3 separate regions of the Homo sapiens genome follow, and all the other regions are linked to region 2. The links are contacts of gene promoters, found by promoter capture Hi-C in blood cells and fetal thymus (Javierre and others, 2016). All regions are on one chromosome and are shown on one strand. Each heading gives the region's core, a stretch centred on a gene start or on the middle of the fragment in contact. The rest is flanking DNA. Distances are from core to core; before and after follow the strand shown. Region 1 overlaps TMEM11 (transmembrane protein 11). Region 2 holds the start of DHRS7B (dehydrogenase/reductase 7B). Region 3 overlaps USP22 (ubiquitin specific peptidase 22).

What was found. The method cuts DNA at HindIII sites, captures the fragments that hold promoters and counts their contacts. A CHiCAGO score of 5 or more calls a contact.
Region 1: a fragment that was not itself captured here is called in contact with the fragment with the promoter of DHRS7B in region 2 in 5 of 17 cell types (monocytes, megakaryocytes, neutrophils and 2 more); the score reaches 6.9 in monocytes.
Region 3: a contact is called between a fragment that was not itself captured here and the fragment with the promoter of DHRS7B in region 2, in 2 of 17 cell types (monocytes and fetal thymus). The highest score is 6.7, in monocytes.

The regions. Positions count from the first base shown.
Region 1 is chr17:21,197,673-21,200,372 of GRCh38, reverse strand. TMEM11 (transmembrane protein 11) reads left to right here. Exons shown (of 2, transcript NM_003876.3): 2 at 1,533-2,419. The coding sequence ends at 2,049. Among named protein-coding and RNA genes, the nearest start is that of TMEM11, 15 kb to the left of the region's middle. RefSeq lists an enhancer at 674-1,471. The HindIII fragment of the contact is 3,903 bases long and covers 1-2,700 here.
Region 2 is chr17:21,125,471-21,128,225 of GRCh38, reverse strand. It overlaps DHRS7B (dehydrogenase/reductase 7B), which reads right to left and starts at 1,262. Exons shown (of 7, transcript NM_015510.5): 1 at 1,235-1,262. The coding sequence starts at 1,254. RefSeq lists an enhancer at 941-1,600. The HindIII fragment of the contact is 14,531 bases long and covers 1-2,755 here.
Region 3 is chr17:21,033,694-21,036,393 of GRCh38, reverse strand. The region is part of intron 1 of USP22 (ubiquitin specific peptidase 22); the gene reads left to right. Among named protein-coding and RNA genes, the nearest start is that of USP22, 8.0 kb to the left of the region's middle. RefSeq lists a silencer at 1,850-1,969 and an enhancer at 1,991-2,492. The HindIII fragment of the contact is 891 bases long and covers 978-1,868 here.

The DNA.
Region 1 (2,700 bases), core at 4-2,503, 72 kb before region 2:
GAAAACTAGGATGTGGGGTGACGGTGCGGAGATTCAGAGAGATCTGTCTCAGCTGAAACCAGCCAAGGAAAGATGACAAGGCATGGATAGCCCTGTCTTCAGGCCTGCCCGCCACAGGTGAAGAAGATTCTGCTTTGGGTGGGAAATTTGTACCGCAGAGGCCTGAAACCAAGAAAAGCAAGACTGCCTGAAATGCAGCTTGGCCCACGGTCACTGCTGGGGCTGCAGCCGGGCTGCCGTCTGGCCTTGCTGCAGAGCTGAGCGTTCCGTGTGGTGGATTACTCTCCTGCTGGTTGGGGTCATGACATGCATCCCCAGTCCCGGGGGGGAAAGCCCCTTGTGTGGTCTCCGTGGCAGTGTTTCTTATGCAAATGAGTGGCATTTGCCGGTGGTGCAGGGGCCTGGGCCTACAGGGCCAGAATTGGTGGCATTGCTGGGCTGGATGTTTTGAAGCCCCTCAGTTGACCCTCCTGCTTACTAAATTTGGAGCCCACTACTGTTCTTGAAGCGTTGTCTTTTCCTAATTCAAGGAAAGGGTCGCTTTTCCTATGCAGTGGGCTAGTGTCCTGGGTCTCCTCTTCTCCCCTCCGCAGCGGGGAGGAGCTGGGGGCTGCTGCCGGCCCAGGAAGGGCACCCAGGGCTTGTGCAGCCTGGCCTCCAGGAGAGCCAAAGGAGTTTGGATTTCATTCGCCCAAGGCAAAGCTCTTCCTTTCTGCCTCTGTTCTGCAGGCCCAGGATGACTACTTAGGAAACGTGCGGAGGGCAAGGGCTTAGCATTATCTGTCCTGAGGTCTGTGGTTTCCAGTGAAGAATCCTCTTGCAGTTGCCCTGATTAACTAAGAATGGCTTTCAGGCTGTTGGCCCTCTGCTGCCGTGTGTGCTCCTGTGATTCTGTGCCGAATCGTTCTTTCCCCTTTAGGCTCCTTTGCTGACTCAGATCAGTTGGTCCACAGCCTTAGGCTAACCACCAGGCCTGTGTTTGTCATGTTAAACGTCGAGGCACTGCTTTTCCTGCCTTTTTATATCTTTTTTTTTTTTTTTTTTCTGAGACTGAGTCTCGCCCTGTCACCCAGGCTGGAGTGCAATGGCACGATCTCGGCTCACTGCAAGCTCCGCCTCCCAGGTTCAAGTGATTCTCCTGCCTCAGCCTCCCGAGTAGATTACAGGGATTATAGGCATGCGCCACCACACCTGGCTAATTTTTTTTTGTATCTTTAGTAGAGACAGGGTTTCACCATGTTGGCCAGGCTGGTCTCTAACTCCTGACCTCATGATCCGCCCCCCCGGCCTCCCAAAGTGCTAGGATTACAGGTGTGAGCCACCACACCCAGCTTTATTTCACTATTTTCAGGAAAAATCCTTTTTACTGATTATCTTGTGTTGGGATTTAAAGGAGATGAGGACCCAAGTGAGATGTGCTCTCCGCAGTGCAGGCTCAGACCTCCCCCAGCGCTGAAACACAGTTAAGTGCTCCTCAGCCTAATCATCCTGTCTCTCTCTCTCTCTCCCTTTCCTGCCCCCTCCATCAAAAGGGTGAGCTTGTCGGCCACAGACTGCTACATTGTGCATGAGATCTACAATGGGGAGAATGCCCAAGACCAGTTTGAGTACGAGCTGGAGCAGGCCCTGGAAGCCCAGTACAAGTACATTGTGATTGAGCCCACTCGCATTGGCGACGAGACAGCCCGCTGGATCACCGTGGGCAACTGCCTGCACAAGACGGCCGTGCTGGCGGGCACCGCCTGCCTCTTCACCCCGTTGGCGCTGCCCTTAGATTATTCCCACTACATTTCCCTGCCCGCTGGTGTGCTGAGCCTGGCCTGCTGCACCCTCTATGGGATCTCCTGGCAGTTTGACCCTTGCTGCAAGTACCAAGTGGAGTACGACGCCTATAAACTGTCGCGCCTGCCTCTGCACACACTCACCTCCTCCACCCCGGTGGTGCTGGTCCGGAAGGACGACCTGCACAGAAAGAGACTGCACAACACGATAGCACTGGCCGCCCTGGTGTACTGTGTAAAGAAGATTTACGAACTCTATGCCGTATGATTTCAGTAGAACAGGGAGCGAAGCAAAACCACCCGGCCCACAAGAGACAACAGAGTATTCAGATCGCCACACTCTGTGAGGCAGCAGAGCCTGGGCAGGTGTTTGGCTTAGTATTTGTTATTTTTAAAAAATAACAGATCACGGGTGTACCCAGGGTTTTTCAGCTCATTACACTAAGATGTGGATTTCCATAACCCAAGAGGGGGGTCTGAGGCTGTGGAAGTCCGACTGGGCAGTGGAATGCTGATGGAGGCAGACGCTGCCGAGGGGGTGTGGACGTGCTTTGGGGGAGGTCTTTAAGTCTATTGTTTAACTGTACCATCCAGAGCCCACCAGAAGCTATTGATCATTAAAATTATGAGAATTTCAACTCCCGCTGTTCTCTCTTTCCATGACTGCCCGCAGCTGCTGCTGCACATCTGCTCTGGGTGGCGGCTTGCACATGGAAGGAGCAGGTGCCATGGTAGCCACCCTGCCCTGCTCCTAGCTGCGGCCCAGTGTTACCACTTACAGCGACGACAAGCCTAGATCCAAGGTAGTCCTGGGGCCAAACCCCGCCCAGGAGCAGTCTCCTGGCTCACCTTGGCCTCATCATTCCGAAGGCCATCACTGCCACCATGCTGTTCAGGAACATGGTAGGATAAGGTGACG
Region 2 (2,755 bases), core at 13-2,512:
TCACTGCAGCCTGTCTCCCAGGTTCAAGCAATCCACTTGCCTCAGCCCCAACAAATAGCTGGGACTACAGGCGTGTGCTACCTTGCCTGGCTAATAGCTCTATGCCTTTGGATAAACTTCTTAACATCTCTAAGCCCATTTCTCCCTCCATAAATAAAAATTATAGTTCCTATGATTAGGGTTATTACAGGATTGAATAATTCAGTAAAGGGATTAGTACAGTGCCTGTAACATAGCAAACACTCAAAAAATATCAACTATTATTAAGGAATGGAGAAAAGGGGACATGTACATGGTAGGGAAGGCATATTCCACACCCTTGGCAAAGGCACAAACATAGCTTCCATTATGCAAACACACCGTTGCAATCGGCAACAGTGTAAGCAAGAATTCTGCTTACTAAATGTATGAGTGTGTGAAACCCAAACGTTACTTCAAAAGTAACTTCACGATTCTCCAATCACTACATGGAAGGTTTGGAAACTGAAAAAAAGAGCATTATGTGGCTACCATTTGTTGAATACCTACTATGTGCCAGACACCAGCTGAGCACCTTGCACGCGCAGTCTCATTTACGCTTCACAACAACCTTATGAGTGGGCTTGTTACTCCCAAAGTTACAGCTGAAGAAACACTCAGAGTTTAAAACATTTGCCCAAAGCCGCACAGCCAGGAAGCCGCAGAGTAAGTATTGGAAGAGCAAGATATCTCAACCAGCCATTCCCGTGGACGCTCGAGTCAGCACCCTCCTCCTGCCTTCTGAAAAACCGGACTTCCTTTGCTAGTCCTAACTCGCCGTCACTGGCTAAGGTGCCACTGGCCCCCAGCGCTCAACCCTCGGTCCTGCCACTCGCAGACGCTGCGGAGCCTCCCCTACGTCGCGCAGAAATGTGGGAATAAACAGGTTGAAGCCAGGAGCCCTGTGGGCGCGAGGCCTTTCACACACAGCGCCCGGCGCGACACCCATTCCCAGCAGCGGAAACTGGACTCAAGACACCTCGGCGACAGGCGGGTTTCCCCGCCACGCACTCGCCGGAGCCAGGGCTCTGGTCCCAGCGCCTGGGCTGAGTCTTCCTTCAGAGTTCGGCGTCGCGGGGATCCGGAAGCCGCCCAGGGCCCGCGGCCTTAGCTCGACCACTACACCGCTTCCCCTCACCCAAGCCGGGGCGTCGCCTCAGCTCAAGGCCAGACCCTATCGCCTCATCTCGGAGGTTCCTTCTTCCCCAGCCCCTACCTGGTAGCCGGAGAGACCATAGTCAATCAACTTCATCCTCCCGCCTCGGAAGTGACGTGTACGCAGCCGGCGAGGCTCCGTCCAATCCCAGCATTGAGGCTGCGCATGCGCGTTGGGTGGGCGTCCCTCAAGGTGTACACAGGACCCGATGGACCCGAGATCTGATAGGGTCCACCCGCATAACTACAGTGCCTTCATCTTCCGGAGGGAAATTCCGAAGGTCGTGGTTGGTGTTCCGTGGACTTCCGGCGAAGAACACAGTTGGAGAATTCACGATACAGTTATCAAGATGATTATAATGCCACAGTAATCAGAACAGTGTGATAACTGGCACAAAGGTAAAAACAATGAATGAAAAAGAGAGAGACCAGAAACAGACCTGCAGCTATGTAGTCACTTTTTCCTCCTACAAGTAGCCACTGTAATGCAATAAGAAGAGTTTTTTCAATATATAGTGCTAGGTCAATTGAAGGTCGATTGGGGGGAAATGAACCTTGACTCCTATCTCAAGTAAAATAATTCTAGACGGATGGTAGACCTGAATGTGAACAATACAACTCTAGACAATAAAATCGCAGAATATTATGACCATAAGAGAGGAAAATAACGTGTTAGCAGAACACAAAAAGTGCCAGTCCTAAAGGAAAAAGCTGATAAATTGGGTGTCTGTAACTATAAGACACCGAAAAGACCCCATTGAGAAAAGGGAAAGACAATAGAACAGACAAGATATTTGTAATACATATATCTGAAAATGAATTTTATTCAGAATATGTACGTACTTCTTGCAAGTAAATTTTTTAAAGGACCCGAAGTGATTTAAAAAAAAAAAAAAAGCATGAAAAGAGGATATTGAGAGAGTAAAGGGCAGAGGAAGGAAGGGGCAGGGCAGAGGAAGGAAGGGGCGGGGGGACTCTTATCGTTCAAAATCATAAGATGGCAAATGTGTGTAAGGTGGAAAATCTCCCTTTCTGTTCTCCAGGACCCACTTCACCTCCCCCTAGGTAACGATGCTATTAGCTATGTGTGTCCTTCCAGAGCCAGTTTATTCATAACCAAGCAATTATGTATGTATTCAGCACCCCCTTGTTACACAAACAATAGCATTCTGAAACGTCCTTCTGTTTCTTGCTTTTATTAACTTTAGCGAATTAATATATCCTGGAAATTCTTACAGATATTCACAAAATCTGAAAATGGGAAATTTTATTTTTAACTAAATATTTATTTTTGACGTTTTCACAAAAGTTTTTATACCTTTCTGGCCCCTCTCCATTGTTCTGGAAACTCTAGATTCCTGCTTGCCAATTCACAAAGTTTGAATATCCTTGTAGCAAACCCAATATGAACCGTAAGGCAGAAAAATAGGGTCTGGAGACAGGGAACCTAAGGCCAATTCACGCTGACTTCCTAGAACTAAATCAAAAGGAAAACCCGAACTTTCCATGCCCAGGTAACAAAAGGAACAGAAGCTAGTCCCTTTGCAACCTGCCCCGCTTTTCTGCCTGGCAGATGAAAAAT
Region 3 (2,700 bases), core at 174-2,673, 92 kb after region 2:
ATTGGTTTCTTCTGCCTCAGCCTGCATTCCATAGGGCCTCATCAGTTATTTTTAAAATCGCATATATTAAGGTTTGCTCTTTGTGCTTTAAAGCTCAGTGGATTTTGACAGAGGCATCCACAACTACAGTACTGTACAGAACAGTTGCACTGCCCCAAGAAATCCCTGTGCTTCACCTTCTAACTCTCCACAACCACTGGTCTCGTCTCCATCTCGGAGGTTTTTCCCTTTCCAGAATGTCATATCATTGGGTTCATACAGTCTGTAGCCTTTTCATACTGGCTTCTTTTGTCTAGCAATATCCATTGTATCCATTGAGTGGATTGAAAGTTCATTCCTTTTTTTTTTTTTTTTTTTTTTTTTGAGACGGAGTCTTGCTCTGTCGCCCAGGCTGGAGTGCAGTGGTGCGATCTCGGCTCACTGCAAGCTCCGCCTCCTGGGTTCACGCCATTCTCTTGCCTCAGCCTCCCGAGTAACTGGGACTACAGGCGCCTGCCACCACGCCCAGCTAATTTTTTTGTATTTTTAGTAGAGACTGGGTTTCACTGTGTTAGCCAGGATGGTCTCGATCTCCTGACCTTGTGATCTGTCTGCCTCAGCCTCCCGAAGTGCTGGGATTACAGGCGTGAGCCACCGCGCCCAGCCGAAAGTTCATTCCTTTTTCTTTTAATGGTATTTATCATGTGGCTATACTGGTAAGTCGTTTAAGTTTCTTAATCTGTAGGTTCTCTCTTCATTCCTTTCTTACAGTTTTTTGCTTCTACTTTATCTGTTGAAAAACTTGGGCCTTGTGACTTGTTGACTTCCCTATAGTCTGGATTTTGCTGTTTGCATACTCAACAGTGGAAGTTCAAAGTGTTGTGGTTTGTTTTTTTTTTGTCCTATTTCCTACAAATTGGTAGCAGGGTCTCCTATTAAGGCTTTTCCTGTATTTAGCACACAGACTTGATCACCTTGGTATTAAGCGGATGGAAGCTTAGGTAGGAAGTAAACTCAGTTTTCAAGGATTAAAATGACCCGCCTAATGGATATGTGAGTCTTTTTCTTGCCTCTTGTTTTATGTTGGCCAGTACCTGTAGCAGAGGGTGCTGAAGAGTAGAAATTGAGATAGAATTGAGTGTGAGTTTTATTATTATATGTTAGCAGCTCTGGTAAGAAACTCAGAGAATTAAGTGAGAATGGTAGATTAAAATGAGGCTTTAGGATAATGTGATTGCTCCCCATACATGTGTAATTGACAGTTGTGTGAGGTGAGCTCAATTTAAAGGAAGACTAGCCTAAGCTGGTCAGTACCAGGAGGATTTTGCCCCAGTTTGCTTCCGTCCAAGTGTGTGTCCCTCAGCACAGCATCTCTTGGGCTTCCTCATTTCCTGTTTATGATAATAGAGTACTCACCCCCATCCTTGAGGGATACATTCCAAGACCTCCGGTAGTTGTCTGAAACCACAGATAATACTGAACCCCATTTGTATTACGTGCAAACTTTTTTCCTTCATAATTTCATGGATAGATTTGTTCTTACTGTAGATCTTAGCAACCTTGTTATTTGATATTGTTTTCTTATTAAGAATTTTTACCTTTTCACGTAAAAGAAGCCCTTTATGGCTTTTCTTTGGCATATCCAAATTGCAGCATCAGTACTCTTGAGCTTTGGGGCCATATTAAGCCAAATAAAAGTGGCTTGTGTTCACTTTTATCCGTGATCACATCCGCAACAGTTGATGTGATCAGCAAGACAGCTACCAAGTGACTTAACGGGCAGGTGGCCTAGATGGCACGGAGAAGCTGGACAAAGGGATGGTCATGGGACAGAGCGGGATGTCACTCAGTTTCATCATGTTTCTCAGAACGGCGGGCAGTTTAAAGCTTATGAATTGTTTATTTCTGGCATTTCCATGTTACTATTTTCAGACTGAGGTTGACTGTGGGTAACTGAAACCACAGCAAGCGGAACTGTAGGTAAGGGAGGACTGCTGTGATATTTTATATTTCATACGTAATTTCCTTCTGGTTTTGGTAGTTGGGATACACTTTTTAGGTAGGCCTGGCAAGTAAGTCTCCTGACCTGTCCAAGGACATCACCGGCAACTGCTGGGTCCCAGCCTTGAAATGAGGTCAGTCTGAGGTCTTGCCTTTGCTGAATGAAATTACCCCTTCTGTAAATTGAAAGGTCTGGAGTCGCTGTACCCTTAGATTGATTTTGGCTCCGAGATTGAGGGGCCTGAGTCTGGAAGCTGAGGTTTTTGAGGTTGGGGAACTTAATTTGAGAAGATTATCTAATTTTGGCAAAGTCTTTAGCTTTTTAGTGCCGTATTTTTTTTTTCATATAAAGGATAGAATATTTAGGCCGGGCACGGTGGCTCATGCCTGTAATCCCAGCACTTTGGGAGGCTGAGGTGGGTGGATCACTTGAGGTCAGTAGTTCAAGACCATCCTGGCCAACATGGTGAAACCTCATCTGTACTAAAATACAAAAAGTTAGCCGAGCATGGTGGCACGCGCCCGTAGTCCCAGATACTCGGGAGGCTGAGGCAGGGGAATCACTTGAACCCGGGAGGCGGAGGTTGCAGTTAGCGGAGATTACGCCACTGCACTCCAGCCTGGTGACAGAGCAAGACTCCTTCTCAAAAAAAAAAAAAATTATACCTGTCCCTTCACTTATGTCAGTGTTTGAGTCCTTGAAAAAGTCACTGAAGAGAA